2 separate regions of the Homo sapiens genome follow, and region 1 is linked to region 2. The links are contacts of gene promoters, found by promoter capture Hi-C in blood cells and fetal thymus (Javierre and others, 2016). All regions are on one chromosome and are shown on one strand. Each heading gives the region's core, a stretch centred on a gene start or on the middle of the fragment in contact. The rest is flanking DNA. Distances are from core to core; before and after follow the strand shown. Region 1 overlaps WWOX (WW domain containing oxidoreductase). Region 2 holds the start of MAF (MAF bZIP transcription factor).

The links. Contacts are between HindIII fragments. The CHiCAGO score rates a contact against its expected background, and 5 or more counts as called.
Region 1: a fragment that was not itself captured here is called in contact with the fragment with the promoter of MAF in region 2 in 1 of 17 cell types (M2 macrophages); the score reaches 6.6 in M2 macrophages.

Annotation. Positions count from the first base shown.
Region 1 is chr16:79,044,279-79,050,643 of GRCh38, forward strand. All of the region lies in intron 8 of WWOX (WW domain containing oxidoreductase), which reads left to right. Among named protein-coding and RNA genes, the nearest start is that of WWOX-AS2, 550 kb to the left of the region's middle. The HindIII fragment of the contact is 814 bases long and covers 3,062-3,875 here.
Region 2 is chr16:79,598,835-79,605,388 of GRCh38, forward strand. It overlaps MAF (MAF bZIP transcription factor), which reads right to left and starts at 1,903. Exons shown (of 2, transcript NM_005360.5): 1 at 1-1,903. The coding sequence starts at 1,068. It overlaps LOC101928230 (a long non-coding RNA gene), which reads left to right and starts at 2,053. Exons shown (of 3, transcript NR_188556.1): 1 at 2,053-2,155; 2 at 3,213-3,516. RefSeq lists an enhancer at 1,818-2,112. The HindIII fragment of the contact is 16,856 bases long and covers 1-5,574 here.

The DNA of each region.
Region 1 (6,365 bases), core at 2,219-4,718, 550 kb before region 2:
GGTCTGATACAGCTTAGATGTTGTCCCTGCCCAAAGCTCATGTCAAAAGGTAATCTGCAGCGTTGGAGGTGGGGCATGGTGGGAGGTGATTGGGTCATGGGGGTGGATTTCTCATGAATGGTTTACCACCATCCTCTTGGTACTGTCCTCACGATAGTGAGTGAGTTGTTGGGGGAGCTGGTCATTTAAAAATGTGTGGCACAGCCCCCCACCCTGTCTCTTGCTCCTGCCCTGGCCACATGACGTGCCTGCTCCGCCTTCTCCTTCTGCCATGATTGTAAGCTTCTTGAGACTTCCCCCAGAAGCCAGGCAGCTGCCAGTATCATGTTTCCTGTACAGCCTGTGGAACTATGAGCCAATTAAACCTCTTTTCTTTATAAATTACCCAGTCTCAGGTAATTCTTTATAGCAATGCAAGAATGGCCTAATACATGGTCTCTGAGCAGGATTATTGTAGAGGGGACTGATGTTGAAGAATGGAAAAGAAGGCAGTGTCAGAGAATGCTGAAGAGTGTGGATCTTAAAGTCCAACCTCAAGGCCCAGCGCTGCCACTTAACAGCTCTGTGACCCTGTAAAGTCACTCAGCCTCATTGAGTCCCCCATCCTCCCCTGTGTAGAATGAGGCTAATGCTAGTGCTCATTTCATAGAGTTGCTACAATAATCAATGAGATAATGTGCATAAAGATTTACATACATAATAACTGCTCAATAAAGGGTAGATGTTAAAATTAGCATCAGCGAGCTCTAGAAGATGCTAAGTTCTCTGGAAAGATCAGCTCTGCTCCTGTCAATCTCTCCAAATGTTAGATTTTGCCTCAAATTTTAGGCATTCGTTCATTCATTTATTCTTTCGTAAATTCTATCGCATTAACCTTTACAAGTGTTAAATTAAATCTTTTCCCCAAATTATGCATTAGAACCAAGTTCTTATGTGGTGGATGTACCTCATTTCAGCAAGAGCTTTCTAAGGGTACAGAATTAAATATGCAGCCTCTGGGATTCAGTGATAGCTCATGGGACATTTGACCTACATGGAAATGCAGGCTGGAGTTGCATTTTAATTGGCAAGGATCAGCCCAGTTGTCCAGCTTGTAGCTTGGAGTGTGGCCTGGCTCCCACTCCAGAGAGATGTACATCATGATCTGCGTGGGTGAGAGGATACTCTCAGGAAATGGGCAAAGTTGCCAGCTGACCTCTCCAGAAAGAGAGACTATGTTGTTAGTTTCCCTTACTTGGATGAGAAATTTCTCCATTCCTAGTCTCATTTTCCCAATAGAACACGGAGGCAGAATTTAAAGCCTCAAAACAATCTGATGCACATCAGCTATCAATGAAAAGGACCAGCTTGGAGGCAGAGGCACCTGAGTTTTGCATCTTGGCTCAATCACTTACTAACTGCATTGTGGGTTAACACAGTGTGTGTGTGTGCACTTACTAACTGTGCAACTGTGGGCAAGTGATGTAATCTCTCTGGAGCTCGTCTTTCCTTTTTTCTTTTCCTTTTTTTTTTTTTTTTTTTTTTTTTTTTTTTTTTTTTTTGAGATGGAGTCTCACTCTGTTGCCCAGGCTGGAGTGCAGTGGCACAATCTCAGCTCACTGCAACCTCTGCCTCCCGGGTTCAAGTGATTCTCCTGCCTCAGCCTCCCAAGTAGCTGGGACTACAGGTGCACACCACCATGGCTGGCTAATTTTTGTATTTTTAGTAGAGACGGGCTTTCACCATGTTGGCCAGGCTGGCCTCGAGCTCCTGACCTCAGATGATCTGTCTGCCTTGCCCTCCCAAAGTGCTAGAATTACAGGCATAAGCCACTGCACCCGGCCACAGTTTTCTTTTCTATATTGTAGGGATAATAATCCTCCCTTGCAGGACTGTGCTCAGCACATGTTCATTGCTCAAGAGAAGTAGCCACTGTTATTATTATTGTCAGTATGTATCCAAGTGTTTAGTTCATTTTCTCTGCATTTGTCTAACTCCCTTTTTTCCCTTGAACTGTAAAGCTCTCAGCCCAGGGATATAGTAGCACCAGCACATAGTAGATGATCAAGAAAAATTAGTCATTCTCTCTGGTTCTTCCTTTCCTGTATCCTGTTGTCTTTATCAGTTCAGGCTGCTGTGACAAAAGTATCACAGACTGGATGGCCTTAACCACAATTGTTTTACATGGTTCTGGAGACTGGGAAGTCTAAGATTAAGGCAGTGGAAGGTTCACTGTCTGGTGAAGGCTGGGCTCCTGATTCATAGATGTCTGCCCTTCTTGTGCATCTTCACATGGTGGGAAGAGGGTGAGAGAGCTCACCGGGGAGTGTTTCTCCCAGTTCCTCCCCAGTACACAGAAAAACAAAGCTTTCTGTCTCACCAGGAGGACTCCACGGTGAGCATAGCTTGGCTCAGCCCAGCAGGAGATTTTGAACCGACTCTGGTAGATTCTTCCTGCAGCCATTCAGCTCCCACCTCTTTCTCTCAAAAAGAAATCCAGGGCTGGGTGTGTGTGGGCAACTTCACCCTGCTCTCTTTGTCCCCCAGGCCTGCACTACAACAAATGTCTCTTTGTGTCCAACTCTTCTTCCATTTCTAGTCCTTCTTTTCTCTTCTTCTCGTACTTCCCATATTCCTAATACGATTGGTTACTCAAATTCTTAAACAACTCACAACTCATTATCTCCCTTCCATGTAAAAGTAACCCCCAGCCTGAGCTACCTGACCCCGTGGTTTAAACAATAAAGCAACTGACCTTTTATCAGAAATTTGCAAAGCCATTTAATTTACATATGTCCTTGGCATCCACAAATATTGCTTCTCCTTTCAACCAGCATGCCACCCTTCCAGCCATTCACATATGTATTCATTCATTCATTCATTTATTCTTTCATTCAGTCAATAAATATTTATTGAGTAGTAAGCACATGCAAGGCATTGAGGGTGGGGAGGGAAAGAGACACAAATTGTCCTTACCCTCATGGATTCACCATGTATTTAAAGGCCACAAATACTTGTGTGAGAAGCAAGTCTTAATAGTCTGAAGTGTTTTCTTAGATTCCCTTGAGCCGCAATGCTGAAAAGCTTATGGTGGTTTTGCTAATGAATTTGACAAGGCCAGAAATAGACCAGATGAAGATTGATCCATTGGTTAATTGATTAATTGATTGATCGACTGAGGAATGTCAGCCTGGTCTACCAAGGTTTATGAAAGCCTGGCATATAGAAATGATGTCGTTAATGCACAAATACCTGCATCCTGTCTTGAACTCCCTCTAGGGGCCACCATGTGTATCAGTGTCCTGTGGCTGCTGTAACAGATTACTACAAATTTTGTGGCATAAAATAACACAAATCGATTCCCTTACAGTTCTGGATGTCAGAACTGGGTGACTTTCTCCTGAGACTGTCCTGATTTTTTTTTTTTTTTTTTTTTTTTTTTTTGCTTGTCAGTTTGTTTTGGGTGATGCAGATGGAAGGTAACGTCACAGGGCAGCTGTATTCCAGGTACTTGGTGACTCTTGGTTGCGATCTGATGACTGGCTCACAGTAGGACCATGACGTGAGCAGATTTGTAGTCCTGCATGAATGAAGGAAAGAAAGAAATCTGACAACTCATTGATTCAGATTCACAGACTCTGCATTTTGAACCAGAATACACCCGAGCAATTACCTAGCACAAAATCTCCTGTCTGCAGAGGAGTTGCAGGAAGGAGAATTCACTATATCCTCTCCTGAAAATATCCCTTGTGGTCAAGGTGGCTATAGACTGGCATCCCTCTGCTCCCTAAGATGCCAGGGACTCACGTCTTCTAGGATATCAGGGGAAGATACAGGGCAATGGGCCTCAGATCACAGACACGGAAAATCATTTTCTATTTCATGGAGCATGGAGAAGCTTCCTTCAAAAAGCTAGCCTTCGACTTTCTATTTTTTGAACTGAAGGGCAGGCCAGGAGGGAGCTGACCTGTGTAGAGCTTGGAGGTTGTGTTTTCAGCTGAGAAAAGTGATCCTGAACCTCTCCATCCTTGCAAAGCTCAGATGGAAGCCCAGGGGCCCCAGCCCTCCAGCCCCACACACATGCCGGTGCACCTGGACTGCCACTCTACCTGTTTACAAATTACCCCCATTTTCTGCTTGGTTCAGCAGCAACTGATTACCGTCCCCCGTGATGTAATTAGGGCTTCAGAGTTCACGTGTGTCTATTATGAGCTCTCCTGTGCTTTGTCTTGGTGCTTCGTTTCTGTAGCAGTAATCATATATATATATAAAAATTTGGTATCAATTGTTTGGCTAAATTATGCACAGTGGGCCATCCTAACCTGCCATTAACATAACGTATGCTAAAGAATGTGTTGTGTTTTTTTGTTTTCTCTGATAATTATACTCTAAAGCATCAATTGCTTATTTGAGTAAATTAAACTTTGAGTTGTTCTTATTTCTTCAAACTTTCAAATTGTCTTGCCTGCAGCAGATGCAGACCCAGCACTCCGGCTGCTGCCAGTGGAGGCAGGAGCCTCGTTACCACCTTTCTGAGAAATTCAAGTGCCACACAGTGGTCACCAGCATTGTAGCTGCCCTGATGTTCCGGGCTCAGCTGCAATATAGCACATCTCTACCACCATCCCCAGAGTGACCTCCAGAACTGTAAGGGACCCCCGCCTTTGGTACAGAGATGGGAGTTAAACACAGGTGTCCACTGGAGTCATGATTCCTCTATTCCCTGGACAAATATGCAATGAGAATCCCTGAGGGACAGGCACTGTGCTAGATACCCGAGATACAAAAGCGACAAGGTTTCTATCCTCTGACAGTTTATACTTTAGTGCAGTGGTCAGCAGACTGTTTCTGCAAACAGCTAGATAGCAAATATTTTAGACTTTGTGACCCATACAGTCACCATCACAACTATTCAGTTCTGCCAGTGTAACTCAAAAGCAGCCATGGCTGTTACATAATGAGTGGCTGTGGCTGTGTGCCAATTAAACTTTATTTACAAAAACAAGAGGAGGGCCAGATTTTGCCTTTGTCAAGGAAGTAAGCATAATAGTGCAAGCAGCACGTGCCCGCTCTTTCACACTGGGGCAAACACAGGGGATTTATTCGGCACAATTGAGTAATGTGGATGAGGCTGCTCAGGGCTGGCAGTTGTAGGACGCAAAACCTTGAGGGGCATCGATATTCTGGTACAGCTGTCACCCATTTGCAGCACAGCTGGGACACTCCACAGAGAATGATCAGGAAGGCCAAGCCCAGATGGCATTGTTGAGGGGCTTTCTCTTAAGACTGCATCTGAGTGGCAGGGCGCAGTAGCTGACCCTTGTAATCCCAGCACTTTGGGAGGCCGAGGTGGGTGGATCACGAGGTCAGGAGTTCAAGACCAGCCTGGCCATGATGGCGAAACCCCGTCTCTACTAAAAATACAAAAATTAGCCTGGCGTGGTGGCCGGCGCCTGTAATCCCAGCCACTTGGGAGGCTGAGGCAGAGAATTGCTTGAACCTGGGAGGTGGAGGTTGCAGTGAGCTGAGATCATCCCACCGCACACCAGCCTGGCCGACAGAGTGAGACTCTGTCTCAAAAAAAAAAAAAAAAAAAGTTACTTCTGAGTTAAAATATGAAGAGTGAGCAGTACCCAGCCATGCAGAAGGACATGGAGTGGTAAAAGCATGTGGTTCCATTAAGGGAAAGACTCCAGGGCAAGAAAAAAACATGTCATGCTTGTACCTGAGGGAAGGCCAGTGTGATTGCAGAGTATGGGGCACCCTGGAGGTCTGGAATGGGAGGAGTTTAAACAGGTCATTAGAGCTTCAAGATGAAGCATAGGCCAGTGACTTGGTTGCTGCTGCTGCGTAACCGTGTGGCAACTGAGTGGCTCACGGCAATCAGTATTTACTTCTCACGTGTGTGTGGGGTTCAGCAGAACTAGGCTGGGCTTGGCTGCCCTGCCCTACTGGTCCTGCTGGTTTTGGTGGGGCTTCCCCCTGTGTCTGTGGGTCAGCTTGTTTTGCTCCTGCATCTTTGCATCAGCTGGGCTTTCTGCCCTAGGCTGGACATGGGTGGGGCACTTTAGCTGGGGTGGTTCTCCTCCACATGTCTCTCATCTTCCTGGGACCAGCAGGGCTAGACCAGACATGACTTTCTTATGGCAAGGGCAGAAATGCAAGACAGCAACTCAAAACACATAAGGACTTTCAAGTCTAGACCCAGAACTGGCATACCCATTCCTCTGTCACACACTGATGCCCCAAATAAATCACATGGCTGAGCTCACGGTTAGAGAGGGAGGATACTGCAGTCCCAAAGCCCGGGGCATGGATCCAGAGAGGAGGGTGAAGAATGGGCCCCTGACCCAAGACTGCACTTGTATTTGAGTTGCATAAGAAGC
Region 2 (6,554 bases), core at 653-3,152:
GAAGCCGCTGCTCACCAACTTCTCGTATTTCTCCTTGTACGCGTCCCTCTCGCGCACCAGCCTGGAGATCTCCTGCTTGAGGTGGTCGACTTGCTGCAGCAGCTGGTTCTTCTCCGACTCCAGGACGTGTCTCTGCTGCACCCTCTTGAAGCGGCAGGACTGGGCATAGCCGCGGTTTTTCAGGGTCCGCCTCTTCTGCTTCAGCCGGATCACCTCCTCCTTGCTGACCCCGCGCAGCTGCCGGTTCAGCTCGCGCACAGACATGGTCACCAGCTGCTCGTCGGAGAAGCGGTCGTCGAAGTGCAGGCCGCCGGCGGCGTGGTGCGGGTGCAGGGCGCCCCCCGCCCCCGCCGCGCCCCCGCCGCCTCCGCCGCCGCCGCCGCCGCCGCCGCCCCCAGCGCTGGCCGGGCCACCGCCGCCCGCGCCCCCAGCGCCACCGGCCGAGGCGGCCGCGCTGCCCGCGGCGCCGGGCGCGCCGGCCGTCGGGTGGTGGTGGTGGCCGGCGGCGTGGTGGTGGTGGTGGTGGTAGTGCGGGCCCGCGCCGCTCTGCGCGGCGGCCGCGGCGATCACGGCGGACACCACGGCGGCGGCGGGGCCCATCTCCTCGCCGCTGCCGCCCAAGGAGGCGCCGGCACCGGCCCCGGCCGCCGCGGCCAGCTGCTGCGCCCCGCGCGCGTAGCCATCGAAGCCGCCCTGGAGCTGGTGGCTGTTGCTGATGAGCGCCTCGACCGCGTCCTCGGGGCTGAAGCCCAGCGCCTCGGGGTTCAGCTGCTGCGGGTAGCCGGTCATCCAGTAGTAGTCTTCCAGGTGCGCCTTCTGCTCGCTGCCCGAGCCCGGGCTGGGCGCCGAGAAGCTGGGGGAAGGGGGCACCGAGCTGCACGGCGTGCTCATGGGGGTGGAGGACAGCGAGCCCCCGGCGATGAGACGGCCGCACTGGCTGATGATGCGGTCGGTCTCCACCGGTTCCTTTTTCACTTCAAACTTCATCAGATCGAAGTCATTAACATATTCCATGGCCAGGGGACTGGTGGGCAGGTCGGAGTTGCTCATTGCCAGTTCTGATGCCATTCTCCTGCCGCCGCCGCCGCCGCCGCCGCCGCTCCGCCAGATGGGCTGCAGGAGAGGGGCCAGCGGGCTGTGCTGGGTGGCCAGCGGGTGAGCCAGCTTGCCGGGCTGGGGCGCTTCTAGCTTGCGCGGCGGTGGCTGGCCCGAAACCTCCGAGCGCGCTCACACACACACCCCCCCGCCCTGCCCGCGCCCCCCGCGCCCGCCCTCCCTCCCCCCTGCTCACGCCAATGTGCTCCCTCGCTCGCCCCGGCCCCTCCTTGCTCGCTCGCCTCCTTGCGCGCCGAGCCGGCGGCTTCAGGCTCGGGAAGATCCTCCGCGAGCTGCGGTGGCGGCGGTGGTGGCTGCGGCGGCGAAGCTGGAGGAGCCCGGCCCGGTGCGCGGCGTCCCCCGCTCGCCGCTCCGCTGCGCGCTTTGCATAAGGAAGGGCTCGCCTCGCCGGCCCGGGCTGCAGGCAGGGCGCGCGCGGCGTCCGCTCGGGGCTGGAGGCGCGGCGGGCGTCTGTCCGGGCGGCGCGGGCCTTGGCACGGGGGAGTTAACACTTCATGCTTCTCGCCTCCTCTTCTGCTTGGCTCTCTTTATTATTTTTTTTCTTTCCTCTCTCTCCCTCGCGCGCTCTCTACCTCTGTGCAAAGTGCAAGGCAGAGGTGCAGCCCGACTGGAGGAGAGGGAGGGGGGAGTTTAGTTCTTTCTTGCCTTTTTTTAAAAAAGCAAAATAGCGAAGTCCTGGGGAAAGACGAGGCAGAGAGCAAAGGGGGGAGGGGGAGGCCAAGCCGACAAGCAGCCCGAGCTACAGCTAGAAGATGAAAAAAGATTTTAAAGCCTCTGATCCAGCAAGAAGAGTTTAAAGCAATTGCTGAGTTTTATAGCACTCGTGACGTCAGGTCCAAATGAGAAATTGACTGGCACTCCGGGCCAATGGGAGGCGGCGAGAGCGGCCGCGATTAGCATAATAGTATAGAAACAAGGAAACTTTTCGGAGCTGTCAATCAGGGCCCAATCAGCTGACTGTCAGCTGGGACGGGCTGGCTTAACCCTTCCTGCGCCGCTGCCTACCCGGGAGGGAACGAGGCCCGGCGCAAAGTTTGGTGTAAGAGGGGAAGGAGTTTTTCCAGAGGGGCTTCGGCAATCCGGGCGGACCTGGGAGGGCGGTTTGCTTTTCTTTGGAGCGCGAGACAGGCCTCCCATCCGGAGCCCCAGCTCGCTGGGGGCTCACTCGGCTGGGATTGGCCTGATTCCCCTCCCCTGCCTGCCCTCCACCCCCAGGATTGTGAATTCGCCTCCCAGCTTTTCCTCCTCGCACCAACTCTGGTACCCAGGTGTCTGCCGGGGACCTTCCTTCCCTGAGCCTGGCCGTGCCCGGCGCTCAAACTTGGCCCCAACTCTTTGTCCGTCTCTCGGGCGCCCGTGCGGGGAAGGGACCGGGAAGGGAGGGATGCAGTGGGGTGTCCGGATCGGGGCTGCGGGCTGGGCGCCGCCCGGCCATGCGCCTGCCCAGAAGGCTGGGCATCCGTGGAGAGGGAAAGCCCATTTTATCCCTCTCTTTACAACGAGGTAAAATAAGTTGTTTAGAGGCCATTCTTCACGGAGACCGGCTGCCCGCTGGCGTCGCGTGCCCTTGGACAGAGCGAGCGCCTATGCGAGATAACTCCGGGGAAGCTCAAAGTCAGGTCAGCCGGGCTCAGCCTTCCGGCTCCTGACTGGCCGGAGTTTGGCCTTTGAGACTCATATTGCGCGCTCGCTCTCTCTCTCTCTTACACACACACACACAAACACACACACACTCACACTCACCCGTCCCCTTACGAAATCTGACCTCTGTTTATCAGGGTCAGGCGCGCCCTTTGCACTTTTACGTTTCCTTTAATTATTTCGGACTTGATCGTGGCAGGGAGCAAGGGGGAAAAACAATACCCCAGCCCTCACCAGCTACCCTCGAAGGGTTAAATTTTAAACCGCGGTTTCTGGAACTAGTCCGGAAACGCAGAGTGGGGGGTGGGGTGGGGGAGGCTGCTCCCCCCACCCCCAGTTGCAAATGCTAATAAGTAGTTCAAATTTCTAGATTGATTCTCTAAAAGTTTATGCAAAAAAGAAATAAAAAAGAAAAAGAAAAAAGAAGGAAACCAACAACTAACTCTGTTTCTAAGATTTTAAAGCGATAGGCAAGTCGAAGAAGCAGAGATTTATTTGGAGAGAAAGCTCCTGAAACCGACCCAGCCTTTGGAAGACCAGCCCGTCTGCTTAGAAGTTGGGACTGTTGATTCCTTCAATTAATGAAATGCATTTGGTGTTTTTAATCGTATTTATTTTACTTTATGAGAAGGGGGAGACGCTAGGAGGGTGCATTAAAAAAAAAAAAAAATTCTGAAAAGCCTGCAAAAGGATCGAAGAGTGGAAACTATTGTTGGAGCGAGTTGGTTTTTACCTCAACAGCGCCACCTTTCGGCAAAGGTCAGTTGAAATTGATCCGTGTCCAGTTTTGTCGATGAAGTGAAAAGCAGCTGGTTACCCAGTGTGGGAGGAGGAAAGAGACACACAAAGTTAGTTTGACTGAAGTGGGAGAACCCGACCCTATAGGAAAGGGGCCGAAGAAAGTGCTGGCAGATGCAGAGATCATTTTTGCCCCTCCTCTTCTCCTTGATTGTTGACAAAGAGGCCAGGGGATACAGACACCCTCGGGGTGTAATTTCTGGCTGAGACCTTTGCAAGAGGATCCCCATGTAACAGGGCCCCAAACCCTTTAAAAGTGCCAGGATGGATTTTCAACGGGCTTTATGGCAATATCAATAGGATTAAAGTTACTTGTAATTCAGTGATAAATGAGATGTCTCTAGTAAGTAAGATTAAGTGCAGTGCTATAAAGTTGTTTATCTGGAAAGTAATTCTCAGAAAACCTGACTTCTGACACTTAGTCATATATTAAGCCAGCGTCTTGAACATTGCACTTCAGAATGGTCTTCCCCACCCCGCAGCATGCTTTGCTATTTATAACCTCAGGTGTCTCTCACTCGTTCCTTGCACCATATTAGACCTGTGTTAATTTCTCTGATCCTAGTAGACTTCAGTTTCAGCAAACCCAGGAATCCTTAATGGAAGACTTCCCAAAAGATTCGTAGGCACACCCTAATCTGAAAAGGGCAGCGCTGTCGGTATTTTTCAGACAAGTAGTGTTTCTTTTCATCGTGACTGCAGAGAAGTTGTTAATAAGGGTAGTTTTGGTCTTATAAGAGCATTTTGTTGGGTGGAATAAACTATGTCTATTACCAGTTTGGGGAAGAAAGAGTGAAGATTATGTCAATATTTATGCAACCTAGCAGAATTCCCTTGCTTTCCTTCTCTTTAACAATATTTTCCCTAGTAATGAAGTTAAGGGATTATAGTTTATTTAGAGGAAAATCCACACTTTCCATTACATAAGCATTATGTCATTTAACATTGCCCGTAACAATAGTTTTCTAGGTCTTTTTAAAAGTCAGTAGTCACAAATGTAGGAAGTTTATATTTTTCATGTAAAATATGAATTTAAGTGTATTTAGAAAGAATTTATTGTTTGTTTATGATATACTTTTAATCCTTTTGCATCATATTTGTGTTAAAAGCTGTAAGGTATGATCATTGCCTCTGAAAGCAGTATTATAATAAATAATAAATAATATTTTATACACAAAGTTTGCTAATGATGAAGACTGTGCCATACACATTCATGGCTGAGTATCTAATTGTTACATTGTTATATATCATTTCTAGAAATTAAATGCCCATGTTTGGGCAGCTAAATATATTATTATCTGCACATTTTTATGGTTTATTTATGTACACTGCTGTGAAGACATGGTATTTTTATTTCTCTTATTGCAAGGTCTTTTATAGTCGCCCATTTTCTCTTGGAAAAAAAAAAGAGAGGATCAGAATTATTTTTTTAGATGTGTAGCAGTAATGCTCTCAGGCTTATAACTTAATTCTCATTTTTATCCTTTTTACATTATTATTTAGTGATTCACAGGGGTGTCTAAACATTTACAGTTCTCTGTTAGCAGCATTTCTTTTATAACAATTGAGCTCTCTCATTTTAATGAGTACTATTCAGGTTTTTGATTCTGTACAATTACAGTGGGCCACATGTCTTTAGACTTCTTTGCTAACATTGTTTGTTTCACTTCTATCCAAGCCAATCTAATCCAAATACAATGTGAACTGTGTTTTCTTACTGCTTAACATCCCCTTGCTATATATACTCTAGTAATCTCTGTAGAACAATATACAGTAATTTAGAAACCATGCATTTGTCATTATTGACCAATTCGGACCAGTAGTATTAAAGTTTTTGAAAGCAATGAATATTTATAGGAGATTTGTGAGGGGGAGGAGGACATGGGTTACATCGCATAGAATATTGTGACACAGTAACATCAGAAACACAATTATAGTTTCACGTCAGTACATACATAATGACTTCATGCAAAAATGAAAAACAAAACCCCTGTTCATGTCCAAATTACAAAGATTAAAAGCTTAAAGGAATATATTTTCCCCGATTGTGAGTTATAGCAACTCAAATATATCATGTTGGAATCAGACATCCATAATCTGAATAGAATGGGATGCATCAGGTATGGTGTCTGGACTCTTTGTTTAGGGGCTGATTTTATGGGGCAGAACTAACCAGTGTCCACTAAATTTCACTATGAAACCAACTAAATTGATTTGAGAAAGAGTTCTTCAGAGTAACTGAACGATAAGGCGTACACTGTTCTTAGGTCCAGTGTTAGATAAATCCTTTTAACAGTCTTCAGTTAGCAGGGTAAGTAAATCACAAATCACTGTTAGCAGATTCATGGAAGAAAATTAATAGAATCAGACGAGATAATCTGATAAGGGCAAAATTGCTGAGGAAACAGTCTTGCCTCATGTTGGAGGATGTGAAACAACAGTCTGATTACTAGGAGTCGTTATGAATAGGTGAATTATGTGCTAAATAATCATCAGAGTAATTCAGCATTTATTAATTCTTTTCTCTTTAAGCAATTCACAGTTGTAAGTTAAAGCCGCTCTCTCTTTCAAGGCACATCTTTTATAATTTTTATTAGAGGTAATTTATTATTTGCATTACCTGTATTTACTTCATAATTGAACATTTTACATTCAAATTTATGTAATGCATTATGCTTGAGAATATATTTCTGCCTGATTAGCATAAATAGTCACTTACCTCATGAATTACTAACAAAGTTTATCTTAAAATATAGGTTTTTTTATTAAGTGGAACACAAACATATGTACAATAAATTCTGATTCTCCAGTGCAGTTAGAGAACAACTCACATTTGGTTACCGGGAGGCGAGGGAGGAAGCAAAATATAGACAAATGAGATGTGTAGGTTTCTTTCCAAGGGTATCATTTAGATGGGGGCGTGTGTGTAGGGTGGGGTAGGGGGCAAAGTGAAGAAGGCCCTAGGCTTTCCGTACACTGTTTGGATTGGATGATCTTGA